Regions from separate parts of the Homo sapiens genome. Here all the other regions are linked to region 1. Evidence: promoter capture Hi-C in 16 types of primary human blood cells and fetal thymus (Javierre and others, 2016). All regions are on one chromosome and are shown on one strand. The core of a region is centred on a gene start or on the middle of the fragment in contact, and the rest is flanking DNA. Distances in the headings are between cores, read along the strand shown.

Region 1 (2,700 bases), core at 199-2,698:
ATAATAGCTACAGACACATCTTTAAGTTTAATCTGCATAATTAACATTTTCTCTATCACTTTAGTTTAGACAATCAACAGAACAATAAATCAAACCCTGATTTGTAGCACTTGCTGATTTCAAGCTAGCTAACAAGATGAAGTTCCTGAACACACCCTGGGAAGAGATATGCAGCAGCCCACCACTGTATACTGTTTCTTTTCTTTTCTTTTTTTTGAGACAGAGTCTTGCTTTGTCGCTTAGGCTGGAGTGCAGTGGCACCATCTTGGCTCATCACAACCTCCACCTCCCAGATTCAAGCGATCGCCCTGCCCCAGCCTCCCAAGTAGCTGGACTACAGGTACCCACACCACACCCGGCTAATTTTTGTAGTTTTAGTTGAGACGGGGTTTCACCCGTTGACCAGGCTAGTCTCGAACACCTGACCTCAGGCGATCCACCCACCTCGGCCTCCCAAAGTGCTGGGATTACAGTCATGAGCCACCAAGCCCAGCCAAGTTTATATCATTTAAGTTTTAAAGGCTGGGCTTGGTGGCTCATGACTGTAATCCCAGCACTTTGGGAGGCCGAGGTGGGTGGATCGCCTGAGGTCAGGTGTTCCAGACCAGCCTGACCAACATGGAGAAACCCTGTCTCTACTAAAAATACAAAATTATCCGGGTGTGGTGGTGCATGCCTGTAATCCCAGCTACTCGGGAGGCTGAGGCAGGAGAATTGCTTGAAGATGGGAGGCGGAGGTTGTGGTGAGCCGAGATCACGCCACTGCACTCTAGCCTGGGCAACAAGAGCAAAACTCTGTCTCAAAAAAAAAAAAAAAAAAGTTTTAATAATTGCTGTGTTTAACAACTGGTTTGTAGCATTCCTGAAAATGTAACAACCAGCTCTCGTGACCTGTTTTGGTCTGGCTCCAGCATACAACTGTGCCACTGCCTTCTCCTTTGCCCACTGTTTCCAAATAAATAAGCTTCTCAGTTTAGTTAACAGGTGTCCATTTCTTTAAAAAAAAAAAAAAATCTCCTTTTCTCCCATGAGATGGGGTAGGGAAGATGAACTCCCTTTTTCCTATCCTTAGACTTCCCTGGGCAGGTGAACAAGTCCCATGGAAGTTTGGTGAGGGGCTTCAAGGGGAGCCAAGAGGATTAAAGCCTGTATGTTCCCGAGAGCCTTCCTTGCATCTGGCCAGCTCACTGCTGCCTTGGCATAACTTTGGGAGGGTCATTTTTTCCATGTGGGGTAAGGCTGAATGTTTACAAAGTGGAATAGGCTGCATTACTGCTGGTTTGTAGTTGGTGGAAAGAGGGAGAAAAGAGCCTGGCACATCCTCTGTCCTTCCTCTTCTTTTTTTTTTCCCTTTTCTGTTGTCACCATCACATTCCTTGATGTCATTCCTGCCATTGTGAGCTGACAGGCCCTCCCAGCCCTGGTGGACAGCCCGTAAGTAAATGGGGAGGAAATGCTGGGGAGGTGGGGGCAGATCACATCAACATCCTGGCATTGGGCTGGGTCGGCGTGGAGCCCCAGAAATGTTCCCAAGCCCATTCTTACCAAGAACCAATGAGTAAAATCAGGGGCCTCCCACCTGAGGTCAGGGAACCAGGCCCTGGAGTGGAACTTGGGGTGGAAAATGGCCTTCTTTGTCAACTGATTCATTCTCCAGAATTCAATTTGTTCTCCAACTCGGTGGTGTTTGAAAGCAACTTTATCCAGGTACCCTCGTGGAGCTCAGGGCCAGCTGTCTTTCTGTTTCCAAAACCTGTTCCTAGGGGTTGGTTAGGAGATGCTGTGGCCTTTTAAAGCCCTGGGGGAGGGGGGGGCGGGGGGACAAAGAAGCCACCAAAGCTAGAGAAAACCAGAAGGTCTGGGTCCCAAGTTCACCTCCATTTGTGCCTACCGTATGATAGAGCTACCTGCAGGTCATCTGTTCTAGGGAAATTGATTTATGCTTTACAAATGAGAGATCAGAGCTCAGTCTCCAGGCAGGGTTCACAGGCCCTTTCTGGGCCACTTGTCCAAAGTGGATGGTTACAGGGAATGAAGGTTGCTGTTAGAAACTCTGCTCTGAAATCCATCCTCCTCAGTCTGGGATGGTTTAGAAACAGCCTTGTTTGAAAGCAAAGACACTGGGTAAATAGGTGTTGCCCAGATCCTACCATTCCCTAAAAGGATGGTGGTGACATGACCAATGGAAGTGAGCCTGGGATGGGGCCACTGGGAGTGGAAGGTGGTCGTTTTCGTAAGTATCAAGTCTTAACGCGGGTGCTGCCTGCCTCCCTCTAGCGGTCTAGCCTGAACCCATGCTCCTGCGCAGGAGAGCATAACCAGTTAATCAGCCAGTAAGCACACACTAAACATCTACTGAGTGCAGGGCAGGAGGTGCAGAGAAAAATCAGAGTGTCCCTGGCCAGGAAGCCTATGAGTTTGGTTTACCTGTTATTTGGTAACTGTCTAAGCAAGCTCTATGTCAGAGAGCTTGGGCCAGCTGATGCACCAGGCATGACTGCAGAGAGCAGGTGCTGGGGGCATTCATTCAAGGCATTCTCTCTGGACTTTGGCAGTTGAAGAAGGCTTTCCAGAAGGGTCTTAAGCCATTCTTTGAGAGACTGCTGAGATTTTGGTAAGTGGAAGAGCAGCGGGGAGGATATCCCAGACAGAGGGGCTTCAAAGTACCTAAGGAAAGGCAGGGAGGCTGGAATGCAAGGT
Region 2 (2,700 bases), core at 34-2,533, 150 kb after region 1:
CTTTTATTCAGCTCATTGGTCACTTACCTGCCATTCAACAAACTGTACTGTCATCCTACCCTTATTTCTGCATATTATCTGCAAAGATCATAGAAAATTCTGTCAAACAACTCAACGTCCAAAAACATGATTCCGGTGATTTGTCACTTAGGTCACCTAGTTTAAAAGGAGAGTTTGACACGACTTCCCCTTTGGGACACCCACACCAGCCCTTTCCCCATCCCATGTAGAAGCTTGCCTTTGCCCAGTGTGAGGTGCACGGGTCACATTTAAGGATTTCAGCTCCTCCCTCCTTTAAGAACACCAGACTAACATTCTTAGCAATGCACATTAGGATAGAGGCATCTGAGCATATAAATATTTTTTTCTAGCTAGCTCCCTTCTTAGTTTTTGTTTTTGGTTTTAGAGACAGGGTCTCGCTCTGTCACCGAGGCTAGAGTGCAGCGGCATGATCATGGCTCACTGTAACTTTGAACTCCCGGTCTCAAGCGATCCTCCTCCCTCAGCCTCCGGATCTCTTGGTTTTCTTACATGAGTTACTCTGTATATCCACCTGTAACATTGCTTGGCTTTCCATTTCATACCTTCTGTTGTTCTTAGTAGCTATTTCTATAAGCTCAGGAGATTTTCTTTGCTCTTTAGCAGGCTTAAAGTCCTCTTTTTAGATCAATTATCATCTGAGAAAATGTGTTCTTAGCATTAATGGGCTATATTCCATTTTTACTTGAAACCATCCTTCTGTTACCTATGCCATAGCTTATGACTCAAAATCCAAATTCTACCTTTCAGTTAGTAGAGTAAAAAAGTAATAAAAATAAAACCTATTTCCCCAAGTATGTATTTTCTTGTCTAAGATTTTCATATTACCTAATGGATGCTTTTTGGATATCTTCGATGGTGCCACTTGTCCCATGAATCAGCAGGGTTCCCTAGTGGCCGGCAGTGTCTGGAAGCCTCAGCATACTCTAGCACATGCACCAGGAAGTCAGTCAACATACCTGGTGATTAGGAGTGTTCTAATGACCTAGGCCCAGTGACAGGTTTCCTTAAATTTCCTTGAACCAATGTCATTCTCTGTCAAAGTTTGTCTGCCTAAGAACCTCCTACTTACCTGCACTCCGTGGTGCACTTTCTTCATTTCCCCTCAGCCTTATTCCCCCTTCCCCATCCTCTTGACTCTGAGTTCACTTCACTGCAGTGAAACTAATGAGGTGCTGCTGCTTTTCTCAAAGCCCCAGATTTCCCCTCCTCTTTCTTGCCATGGCATCCAGTCCTTTCTCATTGCAACCACTTGGAAGTCTGGCCCCTGAGCCTGCTTCTTCACATGGGAGCTAGTATTCTCAGCCCATGGGGAGAAACGGAGGCCTGAATACAGGCGGTCACCTAAGGTGGTGCGTACAGTGTTGGGCCACATGTCTAGTGGTGCCAGGACTGAGAGATCACTTACCTCCACCGGTTACCCAGGAGGTAACAGAGACTGATCCACAATGTTCCTGAGGTGTCTTGGGCACCCATAGGCAGGTGACTTCTGGCTTAGGGCAGGGTTCAGGAGGCTGGGCACTCACAGTTTCTCTTTGGTCCCCACAGAACATGTTTGGGTTGTGGAAGCCTATGGTATTCTTGGCTATTGCAGCTGTGGCTCTGTATGTGTTACCCAACATGCGACAGCAGGAGTCAGAGTTCTGCCTCATGGAGTGATGGCAGACCTTGGCCAGCGCGAGGGCAGATCCCCAGTGGCCACCACCCTCAGCTTTGGGCAGGACACACTGTGCCAGAACCCTCCCCATATGTTCCATGTGTCCCCATCTCCTCAGCCTCAGTCACCCAGGCTGAAAAGGCTTGTGGGGAGCGGCTGACTTCCATCTCCTGCCTTGTGTAAGAACCTGAGTTCCTTGTAATTAAATATCAACTGAATTACATGAGACTGTGGATTTTTATTTGCTAAATGCCTCACAACACAACCAGAACAGAGCAGTCCCCCTTTAACCAAGTACCTCACATAAGGGTCTGACTCCTAAATGCGGCTTCTCACCTTGCAGATGGCCTCAGAAATGAGGCTAGCCCCTTGTGCTGTCGACTGACTCACAGAGGGGTTAGTCTGTGCTTATTAACCCCATCCTGAGGTGCTCTCCTGAGCATGGAGAAATGGAGTGACTGAGGGCTGGGGAGACCTCCCCTAAGGTTCTGTGCCCACACCTATCTACATGAGAAGGCCGCCCTAAGAAGATCCACGTGTGTGCCTTCGTGACTTAGCCTTTGTGACTTCTCAAGGGATTCGCCCTCAGAGATGACTTTAATCAGCCAGGGTCCTGGCAGTAAACAGGTGGCACACTCAAAGCTTTACATGAAGAGAGTTTAATGAAGAGACTATGTACCAAAGGCAGAGTTAGGAGAAGCAACAAAAAATAGTGAAGTACCAGGCACTAGCAACAGTGTAAAGCTGTTAGCATCCCAGGCTGAAGCAGGAAGGAAAGGAAGCAAGAGCTGGAGCTCTGAAAATGGGCCCCAGGCAGGAGTGGCAGCCACATGGGGTGCAGCCCCCGCCAGAGCCGTGAGGAAGTGGGATATATATTCCCCTACCTTCTCCTCCCACCTGCCAGTATTCTACTGGTACCTTATCAGCTGAACTCAATGGGAAGACAAAGCGCAGAGGTGCCCAGGTGATGTAATCTTTCAAGCTCAGCCTCCTGGAGCTTAGAG
Region 3 (2,700 bases), core at 164-2,663, 190 kb after region 1:
ACCCCTCCTGGATCAGTGCCCCCAGCTCCCAAACTGCCCTGGGACACATCTCTAGTTGCAGTTACGACCCTGAGCTGTGGCCATGTATCCACGGCTCCCCACCAGATGGAGCTCCCTGGCCCTGGGTGTGAATGAGTGAGTGAATGGGTATGAATGAATAAATGAGCAGCTGAGTAGCTGCAGCAGGGAAAAGAAGTCTTTCATTCAACTGATCCCACAATCTAGACCCACCTGGGCATTTCAGCACATGGTGGTGGGCTTGGCAGAAAAACCCACGAGTCCCCAACTCCTAATCCCTGACCTCCCCACCTCTCTCACCAGGCTCTGTGCTTCCTCCCTCTTCCCTCACACCCTCCCACACACCCATCCTCACTCTCTGCCCCCCTCACCCTCACCCTCACCCCTAGATGTGCTAATTTCCCCCTCAGCTTCGGCTGCCTCCACCTGTGTGTGGCTGATAAGCTCACAGACCTCCAGCCTGCCTGCTTCCAGCCAGCCACAGTGTGGCCCTGGGTGCTGAGCCTTACAGGCCCTTCCTCATTAATCCTCATAACAGCCCTATGAGGTGGGGCTACTACCATCTGAAGAAACCAAGGCCCTGGGAATTTCAGTGATGAGTCTGAAACCGTACCTTTAAGTAGTGGGGCACAGATTGAAACCCAGGTGTGCCCGAATCCCAAGCTTATCACACATACAATCGCTAGACCAGACCACGGGCACGTCTCAAGCACTCCAAACTCACAAACCCCATGCCAGACACCGGGAGTGCTGATTTGTTAAAAGGGAGGAGGAAAGAGTGGCTCCTTCCCCTTCAGCCTGCTCATCTTACAGAGGTCACTTTCTTGGCAATGTTACTCCCATCCATGTGCTGCACAGGCCAGAAACCTGGAAATCACCCAGGTCTCTCTCTCTACCTCACTCCCCAAACACATCCACTCTGAAACCAGTTTTGTCCTAAATATCTAAATATCTCTCGGCTCTACCTACTTCTCTGCGTTTCCCATTATCACCACCTGAGTCCTGGCCACCATTATCTCTCACAGTGGCCTCCCAATTTGGTTTCTCCTCCCTCAGTTTCGCCTCTGCACACAGCACAGTCAACAGTGAGTGACAGCTCTAAAACGTAAGTTTGGCGATAGCACTCTCTTACTTGAAATCCCTCAGCAGCTTCAGGATAACTGTCCTCAGGATAACTTCCAGATCTTTTTTTTTTTTTTTTTTTTTTTTTAGACAGAGTCTCACTCTGTCACCTAGGCTGGAGTGCAGTGGCGCCATCTCAGCTCACTGCAACCTCCCTTGCCCGGGTTCAAGCAATTGTCCTGCCTCAGCCTCCCGAGTAGCTGGGACTACAGGCACACACCACCTCACTGGGCTAATTTTTTTTGTATTTTTAGTGGAGATGGGATTTCACCATGTTGGCCAGACTGGTCTCAAACTCCTGACTTCAGGTGATCTACCCGCCTCAGCCTCCCAAAGTGCTGGGATTACAGGCGTGAGCCACCGCGCCCAGCCTGCAGATCCTTTTTTTTTTTTTTTAGACAGGGTCTCGCTCTGCTGCTCAGGTTTAAGTGCAGTGCCGTGATCATAGCTCACTGTAACCTTGAACTCCTGAGTAAGCCCTGCTGCCTCAGCTTCTCGAGTACCTGGAACTATAAGTGTGCACCACCACGCCTGGCTAATTTTTTTTTTTTTTTTTTTTTTTTTTTTTTGAGACAGAGTCTCGCTCTGTCACCCAGGCTGGAGTGCAATGGCACAATCTCGGCTCACTGCAACCTCCGCTTCCCGGGTTGAAGCAATTCTCCTGCCTCAGCCTCTCGAGTAGCTGGGACTACAGGCGCCCACAACCACGCCCGGCTAATTTTTTGTGTTTTTAGTAGAGACGGGTTTTCGCCATGTTGGCCAGGCTGGTCTCAAACTCCTGACCTCAGGTGATCCACCTGCCTCAGCCTCCCAAAGTGCTGGGATTACAGGTGTGGCGTGAGCCACCATGCCTGGCCTTACCAATTATTTAACTTTCCTTGAAGGCCCTACGCTCTCTAGTCAGTACGCCTTTGCACATGCTGTTCCTCTGCCTAGAACACCGTCTTGTCCTCACTTCTATCCCCTTCATCCTGCAGGTCCTTCAGGTCTCAGCTTAGATCTGAAGCAAGCTTCTTGGGGAAGGGTTCTTTGGACGCCCCCTCTCTCCATGGGTTAGTTACCATGGATGTGTGCTTCCATATACTTTTCACATTCTAACCATTAACACACAGCTTTGTAGTCGCCTGTTCCCTTGACTTTCCACCTCACTAGGCAGTATCATCATTAACTTTTGCATTCCTTTAACTGAACAAACGTGTGTTACTTGTTAACTATGTGTCATAGTTACACACATACATACACGATAAAGACCCAGACCCTGCCCTTGAGATGAGTAACTGCGTCTCTTCTCTGGGGTCTCGGCGTCTAACAGCGTCAGGTCCAAAGCGCTTGTTGAACGAATGAACCAAGGAACGAGTGAATGAACGAATGAATGCCCGCGAAGGACGTGGTGCCGCGCGGTCTTCTGGGAATCGTAGTCCCCTGGTTCGGGCCTGTCTTTACGGCGCAGGCGTATTCACATGGAGGCCGTGTTGCTGTTAATGCGCATGTCCCGGAATGCGGCTGGGAGGACTGCGCATGCTCGAAGGGTGGGGGTTGAGGCCGACGGGGCGCCGTACG

The links. Contacts are between HindIII fragments. The CHiCAGO score rates a contact against its expected background, and 5 or more counts as called.
Region 2: a fragment that was not itself captured here is called in contact with the fragment with the promoter of GARIN1A in region 1 in 1 of 17 cell types (M1 macrophages); the score reaches 5.4 in M1 macrophages.
Region 3: a fragment that was not itself captured here is called in contact with the fragment with the promoter of GARIN1A in region 1 in 1 of 17 cell types (endothelial precursors); the score reaches 5.8 in endothelial precursors.

The regions. Positions count from the first base shown.
Region 1 is chr7:128,670,844-128,673,543 of GRCh38, forward strand. It overlaps GARIN1A (golgi associated RAB2 interactor 1A), which reads left to right and starts at 1,449. Exons shown (of 5, transcript NM_001128926.4): 1 at 1,449-1,707. The coding sequence starts at 1,555. RefSeq lists a silencer at 2,311-2,370. The HindIII fragment of the contact is 20,881 bases long and covers 963-2,700 here.
Region 2 is chr7:128,820,212-128,822,911 of GRCh38, forward strand. CCDC136 (coiled-coil domain containing 136) reads left to right here. Exons shown (of 18, transcript NM_022742.5): 18 at 1,588-1,919. Among named protein-coding and RNA genes, the nearest start is that of FLNC, 8.8 kb to the right of the region's middle. The HindIII fragment of the contact is 2,105 bases long and covers 232-2,336 here.
Region 3 is chr7:128,860,145-128,862,844 of GRCh38, forward strand. FLNC-AS1 (FLNC antisense RNA 1) reads right to left here and starts at 2,482. Exons shown (of 4, transcript NR_149055.1): 1 at 2,381-2,482. RefSeq lists enhancers at 2,326-2,435, 2,516-2,700. The HindIII fragment of the contact is 1,469 bases long and covers 680-2,148 here.